Regions from separate parts of the Homo sapiens genome. Here region 2 is linked to region 1. The links are contacts of gene promoters, found by promoter capture Hi-C in human tissues and cell types (Jung and others, 2019). All regions are on one chromosome and are shown on one strand. Each heading gives the region's core, a stretch centred on a gene start or on the middle of the fragment in contact. The rest is flanking DNA. Distances are from core to core; before and after follow the strand shown. Region 1 holds the start of MXD3 (MAX dimerization protein 3). Region 2 overlaps NSD1 (nuclear receptor binding SET domain protein 1).

Evidence for each region. The method cuts DNA at HindIII sites, captures the fragments that hold promoters and counts their contacts. A contact is called where the count stands out against the background at its distance.
Region 2: a fragment that was not itself captured here is called in contact with the fragment with the promoter of MXD3 in region 1 in 2 of the 25 tissues and cell types used here (bladder and pancreas).

Annotation. Positions count from the first base shown.
Region 1 is chr5:177,309,100-177,316,820 of GRCh38, reverse strand. MXD3 (MAX dimerization protein 3) reads left to right here and starts at 4,923. Exons shown (of 6, transcript NM_031300.4): 1 at 4,923-5,060; 2 at 5,337-5,442; 3 at 6,124-6,153; 4 at 6,281-6,395. The coding sequence starts at 4,991. RefSeq lists enhancers at 3,789-3,848, 5,499-5,698, 5,956-6,822, 7,069-7,118, 7,189-7,258 and silencers at 4,069-4,638, 4,769-4,948. The HindIII fragment of the contact is 13,092 bases long and covers 1-7,721 here.
Region 2 is chr5:177,209,435-177,217,155 of GRCh38, reverse strand. It overlaps NSD1 (nuclear receptor binding SET domain protein 1), which reads right to left. Exons shown (of 23, transcript NM_022455.5): 5 at 4,961-7,520. Among named protein-coding and RNA genes, the nearest start is that of NSD1, 80 kb to the right of the region's middle. The HindIII fragment of the contact is 5,708 bases long and covers 2,052-7,721 here.

The DNA.
Region 1 (7,721 bases), core at 3,674-6,173:
GAGACTTCATCTCAAAAAAAAAAAAAAAAAGGTACCAATTTGGACTCTGCCAGGTCACATTTCTTCAGACCAAGGAACACATTTTACAGCACATAGTGTCCAACAGTGGCGGAGACATCCTCCCCAGAGTGATGGTTTGATGAAGAATTGGAATAGGCAAGTGAAACATTTGTTGACTGAAATAGGAAAAGCCAGGCAAGGTGGCTCATGCCTGTAATCCTAGCACTTTGGGAGGCCGAGGCAGACGGATTGCTTGAGCTCAAGAGTTTGAGACCAGCCTGGGCAACAATGGCAAAATCCTGTCTCTACAAAAAATACAAAAAATTAGCTGGGCGTGGTGTTGCACACCTGTAATCCTAGCTACTCAGGAGGCTGAGGCAGGAGGATCACCTGAGCCTGCGAGGTCAAGGCTGTAGTGAGCTGTGTTCATACCACTGCACTCCAGCCTGGGCAACAAAGTAAGACCCTTCATATATTACCAAGTTGGGCAACATACATGAAATTGGGGTTAGAGTAGGGAAGTATGGGTAGAATAAGACAGGAAAAATATTTGAAGAGATAAGAACTGAAAACTTTTGCAGAAGCTCAAGACACCCCAGGCAAGGCAAGCACCAAGAAAACCACACCCAGGCGTGTCACAGCCAACAGTTGAAAACCAAAGGTGAAGAGAAAATATTAAAAGCAGATAGAGGATAACAATACATTATATCCAGTGGAAAAATAAGACTTTCAGCTGACTTAGAAAAAATGCAAATCAGGCCGGGTGCGGTGGCTCAAGCCAGTAATCCCAACACTTTGGGAGACTGAGGGGGGCAAATCACCTGAGGTCAGGAGTTCAAGACCAGCTTGGCCAACATGGTGAAACCCCATCTCTACAAAAAATAAAAAAATTAGGCATGGTGGCATGCAGCTGTGGTCCCAGCTACTTGGGAGGCTGAGGCGGGAGAATTGCTTGAGCCCAGCAGGTCAAGGCTGCAATGAGCCCTCATTGTGTCACTGCACTCCAGCTGGGTGACAGCAGAAGACCCCACCTCAAAAAAAAAAAAAAAAAAAATGGCCATACTACTGAGCCTACAGAGGCCTGTTTGCAGTGTTCCTCCCCGGATAGCAGGGGCTGCCAGGCACTTCTGAGACCTGTCTAGCCAGGGCTGGCCTCTTGGCTTAGCCCCTGTGACACCAAGCGAGGGACCGGCTGGCACCCAACTCCTGATCATTATGCTGCACTGCCACAACAGCTGGGGTTGGCGGGGGGGGGGGGTGCGTTCCAGAGGTGGCCTCTGTGTGGGGGTCTGCTGACTGCTTCTTCTGACATCCTATGGGCATGGAGACACAGGCCCACCAGCCCTTCCCTACCCCTTGCCTATGGCTTGGCCAAGCCCCTGTTCGGCATTGGTTTGCTCTGTCGCTGAGGTCGTAGTCTGCAGGAAGAGGCTGACCCTGAGAGATGCAGGGCCCACTGCTACTTGGGAGAATGCGCTGAAGGAGGGAGGCCTGGGAACCTCCTGGAGCAAGTGACATTGAGCAGAGATGGCAGAGGCAGGGAGGTGGGCAAGGCCATGGCATGTCCCCTGCCCAGCTCAAACTTTGTCCTGAAGGCCATGGGAGCGTGGGCCTTCAGCGGGGGCATGAGGCCTTCAGTGGGGGCGTGACCTGGTTAGCTCTGTGACTGGGGAGTGCTGCTCTCTGGGAGAGGGGAGGCTGCGGGCAGCCCAGGGAGGAGGCTGGGCAGGGTTCCAGGGTCGGAGCCAGGCTCCCGACTCCCCCGATGACTCTTCCTTGCAGGGGAGAAGGGGAAAGGGATCTGGGGAACGCAGGGCCATCTCCTCCTGCACCATGGAGTGTCCATGGAGTGGAGGAGGACGGTGAGCCCAGGATTGGCTCCCCTCTTCAAGGGGTCCTAACTGGGACAAAGGCCTGGGGCGGGGGGGTCTCCCTTCTCCCCTTCCACTCAGGGCACAGATGCAGACTCTGTCCTTGGAGCCCAGAGGACCATAGACCCGGGTAGAGTCTGCACTGCAAGTACAGGCAGCAGAACCCCAGTTACAGTGGGCTGGTGGAGGCAGGAGGTCACAGGGCGAAGCGCAGGACCCTGCGGACTCCAGGGCAGAGGATCTGGGCTGGTCACTGCTGGGGGGGCACTGCAGCTCCTCTGTCCAGTCCTGTGCCTAGAGGCCACTAGCTCTAGCATTTTCTCACAGGGGCCCAGGGGACATCCAAGGGCTTGGGGCAGGATCCCTGCTGGTCCAGGCTGGATCCCCCCATGCCCCGTCCCATCCTGTTCCTGGGGAGGTATTGTTCCTGTCTGGCCTGGCCGGTGGCCTTGACCCCAGCCCACATGCTGTCCCTGGCTCAAAACCGCTCTGCAGCTCCTAGGATGAAGTCCAAACTCCTTGACATGAGCCCTCCAGCCCCTCTGCAGCCCCACCCCGACTCCCACCACCTCCTGGCCATGTCTTCAGCTCACATATGCTTCCTTCTTTCCCTTTGCTGAAAATTCTCCTCCTTCAGAACCTCCCCACCCCTATCCCACCCAGACTGGAGGCCAGGCCACCTAGGGCCCAGACATCTGAGTAGGTTCGTGTCTGCACTGCATGGTGCTGACTTTAGTGAAATAAAATTGGAAATTCATTCACAACCCTTGCGGCTCCTTCCTTCAGAGATGGCTGATTGCAGGGGGGAGTTTGGGGGAACCCATCAGCATGTTCTGGGCCCTGCAGCCTCTCCAGTGTCAGCCTGCACCAGGCTATTTGCTCTCTGTAAGCCACACCGCCCCTGCCATGCTCCTTTCAGCCCCAGGGCCTTTGCATGTGCTGTTCCTTTGTCTAGAATTCTTTCATCTCTCCTATACTTAGATAACACCTCTTCATCCATTTCCCCAGTAAAGCCTTCTCTGGCCTCACCAATTAGGTCAAATGTTCCTTAGAATGTGTTGTGGGGCATGGTCTCTCCCTGTGAGGACCTGTCCAGCTGGACCTCCGCCTTCCTGCGACTGTATTGGTGTCTTTCCCTCTCAAGCCTATGAGCTCTGCAAGGGCAGGGACCCTGTATGATTTTGCCTATCGTATGTCCTCCAGCCCCCAGCACAGCGCCTGGTGTCCAGTGAGAGCTCAGCAAATACTTTGTGAGTTAAGGACAGGCGGCTGGGTAGATGGATCGTCTGCCTAGACAGGGCAGTTATTCCGCTGTGAGCAACTCTTAGAGAAACTTCATTTTTTTTCGGCGCCTGGCCGAAACTTCAAGATGTTTCCCGGCCAGGAACGGTGGCTCACACCTGTAATCCCAGCACTTTGGGAGGCTGAGGTGGGTGGATCACCTGAGGTCAGGAGTTCGAGACCAGCCTGGCCAACACGGTGAAACCCCGTCTCTACTAAAAATACAAAAATTAGCTGGGTGTGGTGGTGGGCGCTTGTAGTCTCAGCTACTTGGGAGGCTGAGGCAGGAGAATTGCTTGAACCCGGGAGGCGGAGGTTGCAGTGAGTCGAGACTGAGCCATTGCGCTTCAGCCTGGGCAACAGAGCAAGACTCAAAAAAAAAAAAAAGATTTTTCCCAAGGAACTGAGGCCTGACTGACATGTGCTTGTGTTTACCAGGACTGTCTCTTTACAGAGCATCTATCCCTCCCACCTTCCCTCCCCTCTCTATTTTGGGATTACTGGAGTCACAGACTCAGCCCGTGGCTGGCAGCAATGCTCCACCCTGCTACAGCTGCGTTCATCTTCCTGTCCCCAGATGTGGCCCCACCTGCTGGTGCTGAGGCTAGAAGTCATCACAGCCACTCCTTCGGCCGGCTAGGAGAGTCAGGTGCAAGAAGGGTTTATGGACTCTGAGTAAGGCAAGCAGGGGCTGCCTGGGAGGCAAACGCCGCGGTCTGGTTGCACTGGCCTTTGAGATGGGCGGCTCCTTCATGCCATGGGCACCGCAGAGGCATTGGCTCTGATCCTTCAACGCTGTCGCAGGGCTCCTGAGGCTTAGAGACGGAGGTCACCTCCTGAGTCATACACAGCTGAGACATCAGTGACAGGAGAGGACCCCAACTGCGTGGATACCAGAGCCCAAGGCCCCGGAAAAGGCCATTTCGCGTGCCTCCAGGGTATGGCCTGCCTGAGGAAGCTGTTACCCCACTGACGTTTTCGTAGCAACAACAGCTTCCTCACAGAAGAGGAGGGGGGCCGAGATATTATTCCCATTCGACACAGTAGGAAGCTGGGGCCCACGGGGGCCTTCGGGGGCAGATGGCAGGCAGGCTTGGGGACAGACCCCGGAGGGCAGGAGCCGGGTCCGCCGCCCCTCCGCCGGCGCCTGCGCATTGAGGCCCAGCTCCCCTCTCAACCCCGCCCCATCGCTTGGGTTTTCAAATTTGAAACCTGCTTCTTTTCCCGCCCGAACGTGTGGATCAGCGGCGGGAGAGGGCGGGGCAGAGCGCCAGCCAATAGGGCATCAGAGGCTCCCCGACCCCGCCCCGAGGATGACAACAGCGATCCTTGAGAAGCCATGTGCGAATGGGCGAGCGGCGGCCGGAGGCCCCGCCCCCGCGGCACCCACGTGCAGCGGCTGGGCCCGGCGCTTTCAGGGGACCACCAGGCCCCCAGAGCGCCGTGCTATGTTGGGGGCTAGTCACTAGCACGGGGCTGGAAGCTGAGATCAAAGACGCCAATGAGCCGGCGTGGGTGGATGAGTGAGGCGGGCAAGAAGCAGCACCGGTTAGCCTGAGGGTTCGCTCCAGGGCCAGGCCTGGAGCCAGCGCCCTTACCTGCCCCTGGAAAGTCTGAGACCACTCGGGGCGGGGCGGCTGCCGGAGGGTGGGCTGCGGCTCCGTGGCGGGTTCCAGAGGGGCGGAGCCAAGGGCTGGGCGTTCCCGCGGGCGGGGCGTCCCGGGGGCGGGGCGGGCCCCTGTGTTTGTTGCACCGTGTCAGTTACTTTGTAACAAAAGTGCTGCAGCCGCTTGCTCCGGCCGGCACCCTAGGCCGGCCCGCCGCCAGCTGTCGCCGACATGGAACCCTTGGCCAGCAACATCCAGGTCCTGCTGCAGGCGGCCGAGTTCCTGGAGCGCCGTGAGAGAGGTGAGGAAGGACCCTTGGCTGAATTCCGGGCGGCGACCTCGCTGACACGGGCCTGGACTGGACCTGGCTCCCAGCTTGAAGGATGCACCGCCCTAGGACAGTAATCCCGGGGCGCCTCGCCCTCAACTCGAGAGGAGTCCCGGGGCGGTAGAGCAGGGACGGGTGGGGGAAATGGTCCTGGCGCCAAAAGCCTTTCCTTGACCGTGCTGTGCCTGGGGCTGCCGCTGGGACCAGGTCCAGCCCCAGCCTGACGCGGGCGGGGACTCTCTCTGGCAGAGGCCGAGCATGGTTATGCGTCCCTGTGCCCGCATCGCAGTCCAGGCCCCATCCACAGGAGGAAGAAGCGACCCCCCCAGGCTCCTGGCGCGCAGGACAGCGGGCGGTGAGGAGGCCGGGGGCGGCGGGAGTGGGGGTGGGGGTGGGCGCCGCCCCTGGTCGGGCCCTCCTCTGCCCACTTGTTGCTTGCATCTTTTGGGCCAGGTGTCCCGCTCCAGGAAGCGTTCAGACCCCTCCTGCCATCTCCCCACTCTCCAAACACACTCACACCTTTCTATTCATTCAAGGACTATTTCTTGAGCACCTCTAGATGTGCCGGGAACTGCCAACAGCAGTTGGGGTCCCGCTTCCACTCGCACTCCCGCACCCCACACATCAGGCCACTCACCTCCCCCGCTGGCTTCCTCCTCTTCTCTCCTCTCCCCAGCCCTTTGCATATGCTGTTCCCTCCTATTTGAATGCCCCTCCCTCCAGTACCGGCTTGGGAAACATCTGTTTCCGCAGTTAGCTGTCACCTCTGGGAGGTCCTTTCTGGCCAGCTGGCAGGCGCCCTTGTTAGGGCCCTCATACCCACCTGGGCAGGCTTCTGTTAAGCATTTGGCTCCGTGTGTCTTTGACTCCCCTCGCCCTGCCAGGGGACTCTGGTGTCTGAGGCCAGCATGAGCTCTCCACAGGGGACTTGTTTGGGGCAGACATCTGTAGTGGCTCTTGAGCCACTGGGGGCCCTGGGATTGGGGCATGGGCAGTAGCTGATTCCCCTTCACCTCATCCTCTCTGGCATTGGCAGGTCAGTGCACAATGAACTGGAGAAGCGCAGGTGAGTCCCAGTCCTGCCCTGACAGCGCCAGCCCCCAGGGGCCACTGCCCTCTGGCCTTCCCTCCCCTGCCATTCCTGTGGCCGGCAAGGTGGGGCTGGCACTGCCCTCCAGACCTCTTCCCCACAGGAGGGCCCAGTTGAAGCGGTGCCTGGAGCGGCTGAAGCAGCAGATGCCCCTGGGGGCCGACTGTGCCCGGTACACCACGCTGAGCCTGCTGCGCCGTGCCAGGATGCACATCCAGGTGAGGCCCCCCACTGCGCCCGGACTGGCTTGCCCTGGTGTATGGAGGGCTGTGCTATGGAGGGGCTGGTGGGACTGGGGAACGAGACCTGAGGTCAGAGCTCAAGAACTGTGTGACTTAGGACAGCTCTCTGAGCTTTTACTTTCCAGATCCATTAAATGGGAAGAAAAGCAGACAATAACTCAGAGGGTTGTTGAGGCTTAAATGAGTTCACTCTATAAATGTTCACTGTTGCTGTTACAGCTGTTATCACTTAGATCACAGCTGTGAGACCTTGGGCAGGTTACTTAGCCTGTCTGGACTAACCTTCCCTCCTGTTTGAGGGGAGGGGATGGCTGTTGAATTCTGTGATGGGATGTATGTGGGGGTCCTTGGGACTGTAGAGGGTTGGTCCTTGCTCTCCCCCTCTCACCTTCAAGGCCTCCTGTTATGGGCAGTCTATCCTGGTGCCACCTGGGAGGCAGCTCCAGGGACAGGAGGGGAAAGGACTGAGAAGACGCCAGTCACTGGTCCTCCCAGGGCTCCTGCTGCTGCTGGGGCTGAGCTCAGTGCCCCCTGGTGGACAGGAGTGGATGTGCTGAATAAAGGCCCAGGTGGCCCTGGCCATGTCAGAAGTGGCCTTGGAAACCACAGGACTTTTCCTGCCCTCTAGAGGAATACATGAAGGCACAGCTAGGCTGAGGGCCAACAAGTTGCACAGCTGATGGGCGGCAGATTCAGGACCCATGCCCAGTTCCCTGGCTTGCGTTATCTCCTCTGACAAGTGTTTACTGAGCACTGGTTCTGCTAGGCCCTATTCTAGGCACTGGGGGCTGTGGCACACAAAGACCTATGCGCTGTTAGTAAATAAACCACAGCTGCGGGAACAGCTGCACTGCCGCCCGGCGTCTGTTATTACCATCATTGTGGCTGAGTAACACTCTGGTTGGGTAGTGGCCCAGTTTCTCACACGGAGCTTGCCTGGCCTGGTTCTCGGATGGATGATGTGTGCCCCTCAGGGGCTGGCTGGCCTGTGGGCAGGACCTGGGCAGTGCTCCTTCTCTGGGGCTCCATCACCCCTCTCCTGGATTAATTCACCGGCCTCCTCCCAGCCTTCCTGTTACCTGTTTTGCCTCCACCAGGCTGTCTTCTACTTTGCTCTAGAATGATCTCTGCAGCACACCTATCTACCCAGGCCCATCTCCTGCTGAAAACCCACCAGTGGCCCCTGACAGGACAAAGCCTCTGCTCCCCTTCCTTCCTGTGAAACTCAAGGCCCTTCATAACCCAGGACTTGCCAGTAGGCTGCTCTTTTGGCCTCATCTCTCCCTGTGCCCCACAGAAGCT
Region 2 (7,721 bases), core at 3,656-6,155, 100 kb after region 1:
GAAAGATAGCCTGTTTTCATGGATTGGAAAACTTAATATTGTTAAGATATCCCTACTACCCAAAGGAAACTAAAGTCAATGCCATCCCTATCAACATCTCAAAAGCCATTTTTTTTTGCAGAAATAAAAAAACTATCCTAAATTAGTGTGTAATTTCAAAGAACCCCCAAATAAACAAAACAATCTTGAGAAGAAAAAAAAAAAAAACTGAAGGCCTTACATTTCTTGATTTCAAAACATATCATGAGGCTATGGTAATCAAAACAATATTGTACTGGCATAAAAATATAGACATGTAAGTCAATGGAACAGAATAGAGATCCACAGAGATCCCTGGCCAGGGTGGTGGCTCACACCTGTAATCCCCGCTTTTTGGGAGTCTGAGGCAGGAGGATCACTTGAGCCCAGGAATTCAAGAACAGCCTGGGCAACATGGTTGGACCCCGTCTCAATTTTACTAAAAATTAAAAAAAAAAAAAAAAAAACAGAGATCCCTGAAATAAATCACATACATGGTCAAATGACCTTCGACAACAGTGCCAAGACTACACAATGGGGAAAAGATAGTCTCTTTAACAGATGGTATTGTGAAAACTGGATATGCACATGCTGAAGAACGAAGATGAACTCTCATTTTACACCTTACATAAAAATTATCATAAAATAGATCAAAGACCTAAACATAAGACCTCCAACTATGAAACTCCTAGAAGAAAACAGACGAAAAAACTTCATGATATTGGAAGGAACAAGAATTTCCTGGCTATGAGACCCAAAGCACAAGTAAAAATTTTTTAAAAAGCAAAAATGGAAAAAAAAAATCACATTAACTTCTACACAGCAAAGAAAACAGTCAACAGAGTGAAAAGGCAGGTACAAAATGGGAGAAAATACTTGCAAATCATACATCAGATAATTGGTTAATATCCAGGATATATGAATAACTCTTATACCTCATTTTTTAAAAATAACAAGATTTAAAAATATGCAAAGGGATATGCACAGTAGCTCATGTCTGGAATCCCAGCATTTTGGGAGGCCAAAGTGGGAACATCATTTGAGCCCAGTAGTTGAAGACCAGCCTGGGCAGCATAGCCAGAAACCTGTCTCTACAAAAAAACACAAAAATTAGCCAAGTGTGGTGGCATGCACCTGTACTCCCAGCTACTCAGGATGCTGAGATAGGAGGATCACTTGAGCCCAGGAGTTTGAGGCTGCAGTGAGCTATAACTGCACCACTGTATTCCACCCTAGGTGACAAAGAGGCCCAGTATCATTAAAAACATATGTATATGGACAAAGGACTTATAAAATGATGCAGCAATTATGCAAAACACTATAGAGGTTCATCAAATTAAAAGTAGGCCGGGTGCGGTGGCTCACACCTATAATCCCAACACTTTGGGAGGCCGAAGCAGGAGGATCACTTAAGGTCAGGAATTTGAGACCAGCCTGGCTAACATGGCAAAACCACTGTAATCCCAGCTACTTGGGAGGCTGGGGCACAAGAATTGCTTGAGCCCAGGAGGCAGAGGTTGCAGTGACTTGAGATCGCATCATTATACTCCAGCCTGGGTGACAGAGGGAGACCCTTGTCTCAAAAAAAAATAAAAATAAAAGTAGAATTACCCTATGTTCCACCAATGCCATTCTAGGTATTTATCCAAAAGAAATGAACATCACTGGGTGCAGTTGCTCATGCCTGTAATCCCAGCACTTTGGGAGGCCGAAGCAGGCAGACCACCTGAGGTCAGGAGTTCGACACCAGCCTGGCCAACATGGTGAAACCCCATCTCTACTAAAAATACAAAGTTAGCTAGGCGTGGTGGTATATGCCTGTAATCCCAGCTACTTGAAAGGCTGAGGCAGAATTGCTTGAGCCCAGGAGGCAGAGGTTACAGTGAACTGAGATTGTGCCATTGCACTCCGGCCTGGGCAACAAGAGCGAAACTCCATCTCAAAAAAAAAAAAAAAATTGAAAACCAGATCTCAGAGATATCTGCATATCCATGTTCACTGTAGCATTACTCACAATAGTCAAGATGTGGAAGCAATCTAAATGTCCATCAACCAATGAACTGATAAAGAAAAGATGCTTTAGTATGGAAAAGAAAAAGTATGTTGGAATATTATTCAGCCATAAAAAAAGGTTATCGGCAGGGCGTGGTGGCTCATGCTTTTAATCCCAGCACTTTGGGAGGCCAAGGCGGGTGGATCACGAGGTCAGGAGATCGAGACCATTCTGGGGAACATGGTGACACCCTGTCTCTACTAAAAATACAAAACAAATTAGCCAGGCATGGTGGCATGTGCCTGTAGTCCAAGCTACTTAGGAGGCTGAGGCAGGAGAATTGCTTGAACCCACGAGGCAGAGGCTGCAGTGAGCCGAGAACCCACGAGGCAGAGGATGCAGTGAGCTGAGATCACGCCACTGCACTCCAGCCTGGGTGACACAGTAAGACTCTGTCTCAAAAAAAAAAAAAAAAAGGTGATCCTGTCATATGCTACAACATGGATGAACCTTGAAAACATTATGCTAAGTGAAATGTGAAATAACCCAATCACAAAACAACAAATACTGCATGATTCCACTTACATGAGATGTCTAAAGTAATCAAATTCACAGAAGCAGAAAGAATGTTAGTTGTCATGGATTGAACAAAGGAGAAAATCAGGAGTTGTTGTTCAATGGGTATAGAGTCTCAGTCAAGCAAAACGAAAATGTCCTGGAGATCTGCTGTTGTACATGTACATGATTCATGACACTATAATACACACTTAAATACTGTTTTTTTGTTTGTTTATTTTGAAATGGGGTTTCGCTCTGTCTCCCAGGCTGGAGTGCAGTGGCGCAATCTCAGCTCACTGCAACCTCCACTCACTGCAACCTCCACCTCCCGGGTTCAAGTGATTCTCCTACCTCAGCCTCCCGAGTGGCTGGTATTACAGGAGCGCGCCACCATGCCCAGCTAATTTTTGTATTTTTAGTAGAGATGGGGTTTTGCCATGTTGGCCAGGCTGGTCTTGAACTCCTGACCTCAGGTGATCCATCAGCCTTGGCCTCCCAGAGTGCTGGAATTACAGGCGTGAGCCACCGCACCTGGCCGTAAATACCGTTAAAGAGTAAATCTCACTCTAGCCTGGGCAACAGAGCCAGACCCTATCTCAAAAAAAAAACCAAAAAAGGTACATTTAGGTTACATGCTTTTTAACCATAATTTTAGAAGAAGACAGAAGAACTGATACATACTACAAGAGGCATGAACCAGAAAACATTAAACTAAGTAAGGGAAACCAGACCCAAAAGGACCATATATTGTATGATTCCATTTCTATGAAATGTACACAATAGACAAATCTACAGATTGGTAAAAACTGAAGGCAGGGCTGGGCACAGTGGCTCACGCCTGTAATCCCAGCACTTTGGGAGGTGGAGGCGGGCGGATCACAAGGTCAGGAGATCAGAGACCATCCTGGCTAACACAGTGAAACCCCGTCTCTACTAAAAATACAAAAAAAAATTAGCTGGGTGTGGTGGCGGGCGCCTGTAGTCCCAGCTACTCAGGAGGCTGAGGCAGGAGAATGGCGTGAACCCGGGAGGCGGAGCCTGCAGTGAGCCGAGATCACGCCACGGCACTCCAGCCTGGGTAACAGAGCGAGACTCCGTCTCAAGAAAAAAAAAGAAAAAAAAACCTGAAGGCAGATTGACAAGAGTTCTGTGTTTCTGTCTGGGATGATGCAAATATTCCACAATTGATCGCACTGATTGTTGCACAACTCTGTGACTATACTACAAACCACTCAATTAAAAACGTTAAAAGCTGAATTTTATGATATGATAACTGCATTTTCAATAAAGCTGTTAGAGAAAAATCTACTATGATACACAGTTTTGAGAATCTTATGTTAATGGATATTGCTGTAAAAAAGAAAAAAATATGTATATACATGTATACACACACTGCTTTATCCTCAACTGTATACTGTGTAATGTTAGTATCTTGAAAGATTTCTGTTTTCCATCTGCTGCTAGGTACAACACTTGGGTACTTCTGGTATTTTTATTTGTTCATAATCCTCATTCCAGTAGGAATTTAAGACACCTAAGACCTTCAAATAAGTACTACAGAATACTTGCAGTTTTTTCAAAAGCGCATGTGGTTCATCAAATTGTCCACAAAACAGAAGGACCTATCTTAAGTAATGGTCAAAGAAAACCTAACATCCAGCCAGATGCAGTGGCTCACGCCTGTATCCCAGCACTTTTGGTGGGCGGATCACTTGAGTTCAGTTCAAGACCAGCCTGGCCAACGTGGTGAACCCTCATCTCTACTAAAAATACAAAAATTACCAGGTATGGTGGCGGGTGCCTTAAGAAAAAAAAAAGAAACTACCATCCAATAGAATCTATTTGCTTTCTATAACCTAACAACTGGATTTAAATCCTAGGATCGGAGCCTCTCAATTACTTGCAGTTACATATTGAGTCCCAAAAAGCTTGGGGATTTTAAAAGGTAAGAAACGGGGAACAGGTCAGGCAAGAGTAATCCCAGCACTTTAGGAGGCAAAGGCTGGCAGATGGCGTGAACTCAGGAGTTTGAGACCAGCCTGGGCAACACAGTGAGACCCTGTCTCAAAAGAAAAAAAAAATTAGAAAAAAAAAAAAAAGAGAGAGAGAGAAAGAGAGAGAGAGAAAGTGAGAAAGAAAGATGTTATAGAGATTTACTTGAAAAGGTTGGGGAAAAGGGCTTCTGGTAAAGTTTAACTTTTGAATATATATGGAAATCTCATCTTCAAAATTCAGACCTTTCTACATAAAACTCCTTCTTCATTGAAGTGATGATTCTTCCCCGCTAGTTTATACTTCACTTTACCATTACAACAGACCAATTTCAGAAGGACAATGTTTATCAGCACTTTCTCCAATTTTTTTTTTTTTATCACATTTAGATGTCCTTACCTGGTTCAGGGAGCTCAGCCTGTGGTGTCAAACTGGGAATTCCTGGCTCCTTTTCCATGTCACCAATGCTGGCACTGGATTTATCACAAACATTTAACCGTGGCCCAGCTGAATCTAAGCAGTCAGCATGATTTTGCTCTGTCAGTGGTTCCTCAAGTATGCTTGCTGAAGGAGTTCTATGCTCTGGAAACTCATCCCGCCCCTCCTGCACAGGGTCACTAGGAAGTAAGACCCTAAAGGCACACTCAGAGTTTTCTTTCTCTTTAAATCTGTTCATGCGCTTACGAGGTTTAGTGCGCCTTTGGTTTAAACGCTGCCACCGCTTTTTAGGCACCACTTGATTTACACCATTGAGTTCATCATTCTCACTGTTCATTACAGAGTCCAGCTCTGGGCCTTTTCCGTTTTCAAAAGAGAGTCCTTTTTCAGAAATTTTACCAGGATCAGATTGCTTAACCTTGCTATCGAAATGCACATCAGAAAAATGGTCACCATCTTCACTTGTTAAGTGGCCCATTATCTGAAGGGGATCCTCTTTACTAGGATCTTCTGCCCCACCTCTCAATGAACCTCCACGTTCTCGGTCTCCCTGCAGTACAGCATCAAGAGTCACACTTGGAAGCTGATTCAGTTTTCTTTTGCGCTCGGTCTTTAAGGCTTTACGGTTCACTGTGTTCTTTACCATTTGGGCTGAAAAAGCATCTCGCAATTTGGATGAAGGCTTTGATCGTCCACAGTTGCGCCTAGTAACACAGTCTGAACGACTTTTACCAGAAGCAGGGAGGTCTCTCTTGTCGGACAGTAAGCCAGGTAGGGAAGCAGACAACTCGCCAGATAATGCAGAGTCACCCCCACTAGGGCTAGGATTGGCGGAGTTCTGAGTGCCATCTCCCTTTTTCTCTGAATTGTGTGTGGAGCCTCCTGAAACCAAAACCTTAGAGACTCCTACAGGACTATTAGTAGAACAGTCCCCACGACCAGGACTCCGGTAAGAGACCAGGTTTTGAGCAGTCATCAACCGCTGCTCCTTCGTCTTACTATCATGCATATCTTTCAACATCATTAGCAATGTACTGAATTTGTAGTCTGGTTCAATAGGTATGTGATTCTGACTAGAAGCAGAAGAGAAAAGTAATGGTTTTGATGGCTTTGATGTTCCAGAGTCACTGACATCCTCACCTAAGGATCTGTAAGAGAGTTCCTTCAACTCGGATAAAACATGTTTCACCACTGCTGTTTCTATGTCACTTGAATCCCTGGTTTTCTCATGCATATTGTTCAGTAGTTTTAGACCATCCACTTTCCCACTTTTAGAAATGCTGGCCAAAGGAGAGCCTTTGGTATCAGAAGAGCAGCATTTCAAACTGCACTCCTCATTTATAACTGGGGGTTCTGCCATAACTGGATTTTCTTTGTGTTTGCACTTTATACTTCGGAACTTGGGCTGTTTGCTTTTCGAATGTAATAGAGCTTGATTTGCTGCCCCACCCTTTATTAACGAGTTCTCACTGGATATGCTTGATGACAGGTTGAATTTTGGAGAGAGAGCATCATTTGTAAAATCTGACTGGGGTTTGTGAACAAGAGTAGATGCCTTCAGATCAGAGAGATTAACCTGAGACGTCTCGGTTCCAGGCTCTGCACTCTTAGTACAACCCATTAAGTGGTCTGTATGTGAGTTACTAATGAGAGGCTTCTGTTTTGCTTTTACCCTAGTGTTTGTGGCAGCAAACCTAGAATACTTTATCTTTTCATTTTTCTGCATAGATAACATGTTCTCTGTTCTATCGAAAGCATCTGGAATTTCAAGGACACTGTTATCAGACTCTGAGCTGTGTTCTATGGGATCCAGGTCACTGCTTCCATCATCAGAAGTGGTACAGATACTAATGGAATCACTTCGCTTTTCCTCATCACCTGCTCCAATATAGCAGAGCTTCACTTTTGAACCACACACCAGGCTTCGTTGGGGTTTATTCTTCTCTCGAGAACACTTTGAGATCAAAGCACCCTCAGGCAAGCCCAATAAAGAGTCACCATTTGAAGTCTCAAATTCTTTCTTTGCAGTGTTTTTTCCACAGGAAGAAAACAGAAAACTTCCTGGGGCAGTGTTGGACCCTGTGAGGCTATTTGCTATCCTGGAAAGTTCATTAGAGGCCTGCGTATCAGATATATCCCCAGAGATAAAGTTTAGGCCAAGGTTCTCTGGAATCTTTCCCCTCCGTTCATCTTTATGTGCTTCAAATTGTATGTGGCCCTTTTTCACACTAGTCCTTTTTGGATTATCAGAGCTCTTTCTGGCTCGAGATTTAGCGCAAGGCTTTTCCTTCTCATCTGCAGAATGTTCAGAATCAAAAGCCAGTGATTTCAAACAGCCATTAAGCAACAGGTCATGTTCTGACTCAGGATCATTTGTGCAGTCTTCAAATGGCATATCTTCTTCACTGTCCAACTTGATTGAACCAGGAATACATTTTCGGTTCTTTGACCCCTTGGGAACATCATACTGTTCTGCAAGTCCAACACTGGCTTCCCATTTACTCAAAATTTTCTGAGGAACCTTAAATTTAAAGGAGAAAAAGAATTATCACTTATCAAAGAAATGGGTGGGGGAAAAGGGAGATGAAATCAGAAGCTTTTTTTTTTATTCCTTTTTTTTTTTTTTTTGAGACAGAGTCTTGCTCTGTCGCCCAGGCTGGAGTGCAGTGGCACAATCTTCGCTCACCACAACCTCTGCCTCCCGGGTTCAAGTGATTCTCCT